Regions from separate parts of the Homo sapiens genome. Here region 1 is linked to region 2. The links are contacts of gene promoters, found by promoter capture Hi-C in human tissues and cell types (Jung and others, 2019). All regions are on one chromosome and are shown on one strand. Each heading gives the region's core, a stretch centred on a gene start or on the middle of the fragment in contact. The rest is flanking DNA. Distances are from core to core; before and after follow the strand shown.

Region 1 (5,807 bases), core at 1-2,500, 78 kb before region 2:
GCTCACCGCCCTCAGCCCTCCCCTGCCTGCTCCATCTTTTACACTTAATTACCTCACTCACTACCCCGCAGCCTGCAGAGGCCGGACCACAACTGGGGCGTGAGTAATCCCCGCATCGCACACCCAGCCAGCCGGCCAGCAAGCAGCAAATTGCTCACACGGCCCATAAATAAAGGAACAGGGCGTGCTTGGGCCTTCGGAGCAGAAGGCCCCTTGTGGTGGCTGCCGTGAGGGGCAGGTATCGGCCCCAGCTTCCCAGTTGGCCTTTGCCAGCCCTGGTGAGATGTCTCCACCTCCTCCACCCCAGAGGTGACCTTGAACTTCCCCAGGCCACTGAAGTCACAGCTCAATGCCACTGAGACAGATGGGGCAGCAAGCGCCAGCACCCCTTCCCCCCCACGACCAGGGTACCGCCAAGCATGACTTCCAGGGGCCTGCCTGACCCCCCCAGCCATCTCCCCGCTTCTCTCCTCCCCTCCCCATCCCCGCCATGGAATACTTTGTAAGCCCTGTGTCCTCTTTCTTTCCTAGCTTCGTTACTCATGCTGTTTCTGCTCCCTGAACACTTTTTCTCAGCACTCAGGGGTCTGGTTACTTCCTACTCATCTGAGAGGCCACTTCCTCTGGGAAGCCTTCCCTGATCCCTCTGGGCTGGGTTGGGGGCCTCAGGTACTTCCCCCATCAAAGCATCAAGCCTTTCCATTGTCACTGTCTGCTTTTCTCTTTTGAGGGAAGGACTGAGCCTTACGCATCTGCCTTTTGCCTATAGCACCCAGCCCAGGTCCTGGCACGTCACCAGGCTATTGACTAGGCGCTAAACAAATGTGAGTAAGTAAATGAGTACTTAGCAAATAACTTATCATTTCCAAGTCACAGTGCATGTAAATTATATTTCAAGATATGCGGAACGTCTGTAATGTCATTTTAAAAAATCTGTGATTTCTATTGGTGACAAAGTCACAGGTCCTGCTAATACCACTGTGGTCTGTTGCCTGCATTCATAATTGAAGGAATGATAAGTTTCAGATAGAGGTTAATGAAATTAAAGATGTAATACTTTCCCTATCCAAGTTAATGACAGACCAACTAAATTCTTTCCATGGACCCCAGGTTAGGACTTGTGATAGGGAATGACATTACTTCACTTTACACAGCTTGGCAGACATCGTTAATCAATTGCAGCAGTCTTTCTCAGTGAGCCCAAACTCAGTTACAGCATCTATCTCAGCACCATGTTCCAGGCTACGGACCAGTCAAGATTGGGCTCTTGAGCTGTAATCGACTTGGCATTCCTGGGAAGTGAGAGAGGGGCAATACTATTATAAGCGTGAAATTAAGGGAGAAGGGCAGTAAAGTGAGGTTTTGCAACAATATGTGGGTAGAGGACCATGAAAACAAAACGCTTGCTAGTAGCTTGATATATGCCACCCAGGGAAACAAAACAAGCTTATTAAATGTCTGGTCATGTAATTAGAAGTCCGGTATCTACGGTAAGGGAGGTGACAGTTTCATTCTGCTCAGCTCCATTCACCTATTTCTGGAGTTTTGTGCTCAGTTCTGGATCCTGTATATTCAGAAGAACACTGACAGACTGGAAAATGGTTCGGGGAAGCAACCAGGATGGGGAGATGTGTGGAAACTGTATCCTGTGCCACTGATTTGTTGACACCATGGACATGCATTGAGCCTTTCCTCTGAGCCGCTCTGTGCTAGGATCTGGGGACACAAAAATGAACAACCCAGGCCCCTGCCCTCAAAGTGAGGACAGTGGAAAGAACTTGGTATGTGCATATCCCCAAGGGGCCATCTGGGCCAGAAGGATGGAGTCTGTGCACAGAGAGCTGAACATGAGAAAAATAGTACCAGTGGAGTTTCCAGACAATGGCGTGAGCTGCTAAATCATCCAGGACCCATGGCTGCAGACGTGCCTGAAGGATCTCCAGGAGGGTCAGAAGGCTTACAGGCTTCATATCCAGAAAAGAAAAAAGCCCTCAAATCAGACCAAAGCCCTGGCCTGAGGGAGACTTCACTGCTGACACCACGGGTCCCCAAGACAGAGCTCGTGCTGCTGACACCAACGCTGGATGCTGACACCAGGACTTTAGTCCTTGCTACCTCTGGACACTCAATGTAGCAACCACCACACCCTCAACAGAATGGCACGAGGCTAATCTGGGTCACTTGACTGCCCCCTGGCCAAGACGGGGCTGGGAAGGCCAGCAATGATACCATGAGTGGGAGGTGAGGTCTCAGAAGCAAGGAGTTGGAGGGTGCTGGACGGCCAAAAGGAAGGTCACCTGCCCACTCCAGCCACCAAGGACTAGGTGAATCTGGTCAGCCCAGCTCTGAGCCCAGCATTTTACATGGACCATCTCTGTTAATCAACTCAGCTCTCAGAATTGTAAGCTATGCTTTTCAATCCCCATTTTACAGATGAGAAAAGTGAAGCTCAGAGAATCTAGGTCATGTGCCCCGTTCTTTTAACTGCTCCAGGAAGGTAAGTTCGCGGGGGCAGGGGAGTCATTTATCCACACTGAAGTTGATCTAGCCAACTGGGCTCTAGGCACCACCAGTCCTGGGATCTCCTGGATTCCACCCTGAATCTGCCACAGCAATGCTAAAGCAGATTTCCTGAGGCTTCACCCAGCACTTGCTGCATTCTGGACTCTACACAAAAGTCACCTCCTCAGAGAGGTCTTCCTTGACTACCCTATCTAAAATGGCTCTCGCTCCACCTCTCTTTTTTTTTTTTTTTTTGAGATGGAGTCTATCTCTGTCGCCCAGGCTGGAGTGCAGTGGCGCGATCTCGGCTCACTGCAAGCTCCGCCTCCCGGGTTCACGCCATTCTCCTGCCTCAGCCTCCCGAGTAGCTGAGATTACAGGCGCCTGCTACCACGCCCGGCTGATTTTTTGTATTTTTAGTAGAGACGGGGTTTCACCGTGTTAGCCAGGATGGTCTCAATCTCCTGACCTCGTGATCCGCCCGCCTCGGCCTCCCAAAGTGCTGGGATTACAGGCGTGAGCCACCGCGCCCGGCCTCCACCTCTCTCTGTCTTTGCCCATTTCCCTGCCTGGTGCTTTCTATGACAGGACATTGGCATATCTACCTACTCTTGGCTCAGCAGGATGTAAGCCACATGAGAGCAGGTCTCTGTCTTGTTCATTGCTGTGTCCCCAGCTCTTAGCACAGTGTCTGGCACATGGCAGGTCACAATAAGTATCTGCAGATTTATAGCTGTGAGCCCCTGGGCAATTTTTTTCTTTCTTTTTCTTTGTTGTTGTTGTTTGTTTGTTGTTTGTTTGTTTCTTGAGACAGAGTCTTACTCTGTCACCCAGGATGGAATGCAGTGGCCCGATCTTGGCTCCCTCTTACCTCTGCCTCCCGGTTCAAATGATTCTCATGCCTCAGCCTCAGTAGCTGGGATTACAGGTGCATGCCAGCATGCCTGGCTATTATTATTATTATTATTATTATTATTATTATTATTATTATTATTATTTGTATTTGTATTTGTAGCAGAGATGGGGTTTCGCCATGTTGGCCAGGCTGGCCTTGAACTCCTGGCCTCAAATGATCCACCCACCTCAGCCTCCCAAAGTGTTGGGACTATAGGCGTGAGCCATCGCGCCCAGCTGCTTGGGCAATTTCTTCACCTCGATGTTACCCACTGTCCCCCTTTTTATAAAAGGGGATAATCATGTCATATGCCTCCAAAAGTAGTTGTGAGGGTTCTGTAAGTTCATGTAGTATCACAGCCAAGCAGGCCTTTTCATGAGCACCTGTTGTGTACCAGGCCTATAATGGGGCACCTGTATGGGGTCCCCGCCCTTGAAGAGTTCACCATCTGGATAGGGTTCCAGAAGAATTTCATTGCAGGATCTTGACAGAGCCACAGGAGTCAGAGAGAGGAGAGGCTCCTTGGGGCTGAAAGGCCCAAGAGGTCACTGTAAGAGGATAGCCTCAGAATTAACAATGGCCAATATTATTGAGCACTGGCTGTGTGCAAACACCTCACTCATCTTCCATCTGCCCTTCAAGATAAGCCATTAGTATCAACATCCTCATGTAACAGTTGAAGAAACTGAGATAAAAAGAGGATGGGAAACTTCCCCAGGCTGGGTAACTTGTTGGTAAGCAGCCGAAGTGAACCCAGATCATCCACGCTTTCAACTCTTGTGCTCCCCCTCCCCCTCTGCAGCTAGGTGAGATGGGAGGCTAGGAAGATGAGCACTAGGGGCATGTGGACATTCTGACTCCTTAGCAACCTGTCCACTGGCAAAGTCTGCGGTCAAGCACAGGTCAATATTGACAGCCCCCTGCCTCCATGCACCTGGGCCACCTCCTGGCTTTCTCTAGAAGCTGATGAGTCCCAGCTGGTATATGAGCAGAGGCAGGGAGCAGGAGGCAGAGCCGGGGCTGCTGAGAGGGGTTGATTCCTCTGTGCCAGGAGTCCTGGGAGCCTGGAAATGCCAACTCTGCAGCTCCATTGCCACCTCAGCATCTCCCAGGCATGGTTCTGAGCTCGGCTGGTGGGGAAGAGAGGGAGGCAAGAGAGGCCACCTTGGAGTGAGGAAGCCCATCCTGACTTGGCAGGGAGCCTGAATGTTCCAGGGAAAGCATTTCCCTGTCCCATGCCTCAGGTTCCACAACTGTCAAATGGGGGTGGGGAGGAGACAATGCTGTTATCTCAAAGGCCCTTCAAGTAGAGCTCCCACTTACCAAGGGCTGACTATACATGAAGCCCCCTACAGCCCTACTTAGCAGGTGCTCCCACTGGCCTCTGTTTACAGAGATGAAATAGAGCTGCAAAGAGGCAAAGTAACTTGCCCAGGGCCAACCAGCTTGAAGAGGCAGAGCCAGGATTAAAATTTGGCTCAGCCAGGTACAGTGGCTCACATCTATAATCCCAGCACTTTAGGAGGCCGAGGCGTGAGGATCACTTGAGGCCAAGAGTTTGAGACCAGTCTGGGAAGTATAGCAAAATCCCATCTCTACAAAGAGTTTAAAAATTAGCCAGGGCATGGTGGCATGCACCTGTAGTCCCAGCTGCTCAGGAGGCTGAGGGAGGAGGATCACTTGACCCCAGGAGTTCAAGGCTGCCATAAGCCATGATCACAACACTGCACTACAGCCTGGATGAGAGCAAGACCCTACCTCTACAAAATAAAAATAAAAAATAAAACTTGGCTCAGGGTGACCCAGGCCCAAACGCTGAGTTATCCCACTTGCTTGAATGGTGGGCTCTTGTCTAGGGGCTTTTGGCCAGCCCACCGCTAAACCATGCCAGAGGCCCACCCCAAATACCCTGACCCCGCAGGCAGCCTGGTGATCAGACTCCTGATAGCCAATTCCTTCTTCCAGAGGTTTCAGAGACCTGCTTAAGATGGGACCTTGTCAGGGACAGGAGTTAGAATGTTTAGGGATGTCTCCAACTTTGAAAGAAAGACTTTTTTTCTTTTCTTTCTTTCTTTTTTTTTTTTTTTTAAGACAGAGTCTCACTCCATCACCTAGGCTGGAGTGCAGTGGCGCAGTCTTGGCTCACTGCAACCTCCTCCTCCCAGGTTCAAGCGATTCTCATGCCTCAGCCTCCTGAGTAGCTGGGATCACAGGCACGCCCCATCATGCCCAGCTGATTTTTGTATTTTTAGTAGAGACAGGGTTTCACCATGTTGGCCAGTCTGGTCTCGAACTCCTGAACTCAGGTGATCCACCCGCCTCGGCCCCCCAGAGTGTTGGGATTACAGGCGTGAGCCACCGGACCTGGCCTGAAAGAAAGACATTTTAATGGAGGAATACCAATGTCTGT
Region 2 (5,545 bases), core at 2,529-5,028:
TGGTCCCTCATGCCCTGCTGCTGGGCATGTAGACTGAGGCAGCCGTCATAGAGTGCAGTAACTGTATGTATTCTCTCCACCCCAGGGATCCTGCCCCCGAGTGTACATCCCAGAGAAATACACACGGGAGTCCATGAGAGTCACACACTGCAAGTCCATCACAGCTTTGCTTGGGGAGGTGGGAACTGGAGGTAGCCAGCATCCATCACTAAAGCGGTGGGAAAAGGAGGCATGGTGGCACACGCACACCGTGCATGCTTAGCAGCAGTGGGAACCAAGGGACTTGAGCTGGACTCAGCACACAGAGCAGTGTCGAGGAAACAAAATAGCCTATGACACAGATCTATTGAAACCACTATTTATATACATTAAAAACCTCCACACACAAATCAACGCCATGCACATTTTATAAAGACACACATATATCCAAAGGCATGCGTCAAAGATATGGGAGTGGGTGCCCTGTTAGGGGAGGGAAATGGAAGTGAGAATCAGGGATGAAGGGAGAAAAGTCAAAATATGGTGTGATGAACACAACAAGACTTTGCAGCAAGGTTGGCAAAAAGTGGCAAAGAGGCCTTCACCATCTGCTACTCTGAACACTGGCAGAGGACTAGGGATGTCTGGTCAGACCCAAAGGGGCAGCATTCCAAGCAGGAAGGACAGCTGGAGCACAGGCTCAGAGTTGTGCACAGCAGGTGCCTCTGAGAAACAAATGCTTTTTGTAGAAGTGAAGGGTGCCCATGGTCAGGGAGGCAGGGACCAGCCTCTACCCTCTCAGCCTGTGACACCTGTCTCCTCTTACCTGGCAGACTCCTACTCAGCCCTCACAGGCCTCTAGGCTGCCTCAGAAGCCATGTGGTTAGGGAAGGAGCAATGGCTTTGGAGTCAGACCAATCTCAGCTCCCACATTGGCCCACCGTGTGACCTCGGGCAAGTCACTTTCCCCTCTTTGAACCTCCGTATCTTCATCTGTAAAATGGGAATAATGACAATACCTACCTCAGAAGGTTGTGTTGGGAAGGAAGTGAGATGAGCAAAATACACAAAGTACCTGCCCCATGGAGCTTATACTCTAGTGGAGGGAGACAGGTGGTAGACAAATAAATATGTAATGTCTCTACTGCTGTATCCGCAGTACCCAGAACTGTGCCTAGCACATAGCAGGTGCTCAGTTAATATTTGTAGAATGAATAAGTGAATGAATGAAAGTCAGTGACAAATGCTATAAAAAGAAATAAAGCAGGATAAGGGGAAAGGGAGAGCTGGGGGTGCTGGCAGGTTGGAGAAGCCATTACTGTTAGTGCTGGTGGTCAGGAAGGGCCTCCCTGAGATAAGATTTGAGTGAAGATTTGAAGGAAATGAGTGAACAAACTATGAGACTATCAGGGGCCAGGGGGGCCAGGAAGAAGTGGGCTCCAGATTTAGTGGGGAGGCCAGTGTGGCTGGAGCAGAGTGAGGGACAGAGAATGGGGGAAGCTGAGGTCCCCTGTGTAGGTGAGCTGAGAATGTGGTAGGAGTCCCCTCCGCACTCCCAGGGACAAGACCTAGAAAAGTCAATGCTGCTCAGCCCTTTCCCAGGCAGTTGGCTGGGGCCAGCCCCTAAAAACAGTAGCACAAACTCCTCTCAGGTACTGAGCACTCCTGTGTGCCAAGCCCAGCTCTACTGGCACAAACTCATGGAACCATCACCAGCCCTGGGAATGGGTACTATTATTATCTCATTTTCAGAGCAGGCAACTGAGACTCTGGGAAGCAGCTAACCTTGGAACCGGAACTGGGTCTCTCTGATACCAGACCCTGGCTTGCTCCTACCACATTGTCTTGAAATCCTTTGTTTACAGCTCGCCTTCCCCTCTCGGCTGCAGAAGGCCTGTCTCAGTCTCATTCATGGTTTTCTTCTACTCCCAGGGTCCCAAGTGTCAAAATATGCCTAAGGAGCAAATAAATGAATGAGCCTACAAGGCAAGCCCCTCTTCGCCTTCCGGGCCCAGTTCACGCCTTGGTTGGCATCTCCAGTTGGAGGTGGAATTGGGAGGGGGCTGGACAGAGGAATTTCAAGCTGCCTGAGGGTCAGAAGCAGAGAGGAGGGGGAGAAGGGGGAGAAAGCGAAAGTGAAGTGAGCTGGGAGCCCCTGTGAGGAGGCGCAGACAGGGAAGGAAATCTCCCGGTAATAATTCATCGGCTCAGGAAGCAGCAGCCTGGTCTGGGGCTGTGTGTGGGACCAGCCCTGCGGGGAGGGGGCCCATGCTGGCTGTTTCCCTCCTCCCCAAAGCCCAGCCTGGCTGGGGTCACGGTCAAATGCTGGCGGTGGGGGGATCCAGGTGTGGGAACAGACTCTCCCGCAGACCCTGGGTCCTAAGGGGCTCCTCCCCCGGCAGTCATGGGAAATCCCTCGCTCCCTCTTCTTCCCCTAATTCTGGCCTGGATCAGGGAAGCCAGGAAAGCACAGCATGGCAGAGCTGCAGGCATCGTCAGGAAAACAGACGCCCAGAGGAGCCAAAATGCACCTAGAAGCCTTTCAACTCCACTCCCTGCGCTCTGTCTGCTACACCGGCTGCCACTCGGGCTTATTTTCAAGGCCAAGTGGATGCTGGTTTAGCTAGTGCCTGGAGAGAGCTGAGCAGCAGGCACGAGTGAGATCGAGACCCCGGCAACCACCTTTGGCTCAGCAATTCTCTGAAGAGGACACGTCAGGCTGAACAATCTAAGGTTTCTAGAAGGCAAGCAGGCATTGAGGAAAGATAGCCCGTGTGTGTGTGATGGGATGGTGGTGGTAGGATTCCAAGAGGTAGTGAAACCGGACAGGCTGGAGCTAGCGCCGCCACTCCCACCTGTACGACTGAAGGCCGGAGCTCTCTGACCTGTAACTCAGGGCTGCCATCCTGCAGCCTCAGCTGGGCGCAATAGAGTATATAGCACCGAGTCTGGTACACAGTAGTTCCTTAACCAAAACGTCAGTTCCGTGAGGGTGAAGAATTTATTTTGTTAATGGCTGTATCCTCAGACCTAAAACCATGTCTGACACATAGTAGGGACCCAACGAATATTTGTTGAAAAAACGAACGAACTACTGGTGTTTGTGTATTGTGGTTTTGTTTTGCTTTTTTTTTTCTTCTTCTTTTTAAGTTTGTCTTCAGGGACAAGACACTGTCGAATCCTCATTTGGAAAGATTATAGCTTTTCTCCAAGTGTTCTCCACGGACACCACCACTATCACCAATGGCTTGTTACAAAATGTAGGTTCCTGGGCCCGTTCCAGAACTGCTCAATCAGAATGGGAGCAATTTGGGACTCTGTAATAGCAAAAGCCCCTTCCCCAGTTCTTACGCACGTGAAAGCTGCAGAACTACAGGATTAGAATTGGAGGGCAGGCAGACACTAGCTGTTTCTCTGCAATCTGAACGTTCCGAACGAGGAAACTGAGGCCCAGAGAGGAGAAAGGGATCTGCCCGCGTCTCCCAGGTGGTCCAGGCTGGAGACAAAAAGTTCGGATCTGGGCCCACCCCGGCCGACCCTCCCAGACCTCCAGCATCTGCCGGGCTAGCCAGCCGGGAACGGGGGCCTTCGGGGTGGGCCGCCGGCTCCCGGGCCGCTTTCAACCTGGGGGACGGAGGCGGTGGGAGCGTCGCCATTGGCCAGGGCGCGGCGGACGCCTCCCCATTGGCCGGGCGGACGCCTCCCCATTGGCCGGGCGGAGCCCTCCGCCCCCGGCCGGGGCGGCCTTGCCATTGGCCCCTCCCTCGCCTATAAGGCGGGGGCCGGCGGGGCCGTGGGAGCGCGCGGGAGCGCACGGCGGGGCGCGGCCGACGCTGGGACGCGGCGCACGGAGGGACGCGGCCGGCGCCCATGGCGTTCGCGCTGCTGCGGCCCGTCGGCGCGCACGTGCTGTACCCGGACGTGCGGCTGCTGAGCGAGGACGAGGAGAACCGCAGCGAGAGCGACGCGTCGGACCAGTCGTTCGGCTGCTGCGAGGGCCCGGAGGCGGCGCGGCGCGGCCCGGGCCCCGGGGGCGGGCGGCGGGCGGGCGGCGGCGGCGGCGCGGGCCCCGTGGTGGTGGTGCGACAGCGGCAGGCGGCCAACGCGCGGGAGCGGGACCGCACTCAGAGCGTGAACACGGCCTTCACGGCGCTGCGCACGCTCATCCCCACCGAGCCGGTGGACCGCAAGCTGTCCAAGATCGAGACCGTGCGCCTGGCGTCCAGCTACATCGCGCACCTGGCCAACGTGCTGCTGCTGGGCGACTCGGCCGACGACGGGCAGCCGTGCTTCCGTGCCGCGGGCAGTGCCAAGGGCGCCGTCCCCGCCGCCGCCGACGGCGGCCGCCAGCCGCGCTCCATCTGCACCTTCTGCCTCAGCAACCAGCGCAAGGGGGTGAGTGTGCTGCGTCCCTCGCTGCGGCCGCCAGGTCGGGGTAGGCGGGGGGCAGCGCCTCTGCGGGAACCGGAGAGGTGCAGGGGTCCCCAACGAGGCCAGGGGGAAGCGACGTGGAATTCGTGCTGGGTGCGGCACCCCAAGCCCAGAACCACTGACTTAATGCCCAGGCCCCCAAACAGAAGGATGCGGGAAAACCCAGAGTTCGGGTCTGATTTAACTGCTCAGTGTGGGATATCCCCTCCAACGAAAGGTGTGCTGGAACTTCCTTCCTGCTGGGAAGACGGCATGAGGACTGAGTAACAAAGACCCATCTTTTATGGAGTCTTCCTCTGTGCCGATGCGCTCCACATCCACTTTTTTGCCTTCACAAGAATCCCTTCAGGCAGGTAGTTTTTCTGCCCATTTTATCCTGATGAGGATCTGAGCATCAGAGATGGGATCACCTGCCCACATTTACTCAGCTGGGAAGCCGGGGCGCTGGCCCTGGGCTTGCCCGGTGTGTGTTGCCCCCACCTTGAAATAATTGTCCCCTGTCCTAAGATCTAACCCAAGAGCAGGAGACTGAGAAGAAAGGAGGCCACAAACCGCCAACCGAGAGCCTGAGGTACCCAGCGGATGAGCAGTAGGAGTGAAGAAGGGGCCCTCTGAGAGTCCCCAGCCCCCAAAAGGACGTGGTGTTGGGAGAGGGCACTCTTGGGTCAGCTGGAGGGAGCTGGTGTGCAGCTCCTGCAATGTGTCCTGGGCAAGAAAGTGGATCAGGCTGGTAGGGGTGGGCGGGGGCTGTGTGGCAGCAGAGGTGGCCTCTTGGCTGAAACCTTGCCCAGGCTCCAAGGAACCTGCTTCATCCCCCGACCGTGTGCCTTTCTGGCCTGGGCTTTTCCTACAGTAAAGAAGCCTGTCTAACAACTTGTATTCCAGCAGCTACCATTTACATCCGGGGAAACTGAGGCTGAGAGAGTACTGACTTTTGGTGGCCAAGTGGAAGGGCATGGGGAATTGGAGTTAGGCCCCTGACTCCCTGCTGTTTGGTTCTCACAGCTGCCGTTGGTCCCTTGCTCCACCCTGTTCTGCGGAGGCCTCTGCATCTTGGCCTGAGACCACCCTCTGTCTGGCTCATCAGATATCCAGCCTGGTTGCTCAACACTTGGCTGCCTCAGTTGCCCTGAAT

The links. The method cuts DNA at HindIII sites, captures the fragments that hold promoters and counts their contacts. A contact is called where the count stands out against the background at its distance.
Region 1: a fragment that was not itself captured here is called in contact with the fragment with the promoter of TCF15 in region 2 in 2 of the 25 tissues and cell types used here (H1 embryonic stem cells and spleen).

The regions. Positions count from the first base shown.
Region 1 is chr20:683,390-689,196 of GRCh38, reverse strand. No RefSeq gene overlaps it. Among named protein-coding and RNA genes, the nearest start is that of SCRT2, 10 kb to the right of the region's middle. RefSeq lists enhancers at 1-76, 77-657 and a silencer at 3,898-4,192. The HindIII fragment of the contact is 5,508 bases long and covers 1-4,004 here.
Region 2 is chr20:608,542-614,086 of GRCh38, reverse strand. TCF15 (transcription factor 15) reads left to right here and starts at 3,778. Exons shown (of 2, transcript NM_004609.4): 1 at 3,778-4,374. The coding sequence starts at 3,850. RefSeq lists enhancers at 1,870-2,370, 2,371-2,871 and silencers at 3,571-3,680, 3,691-3,860. The HindIII fragment of the contact is 16,586 bases long and covers 1-5,545 here.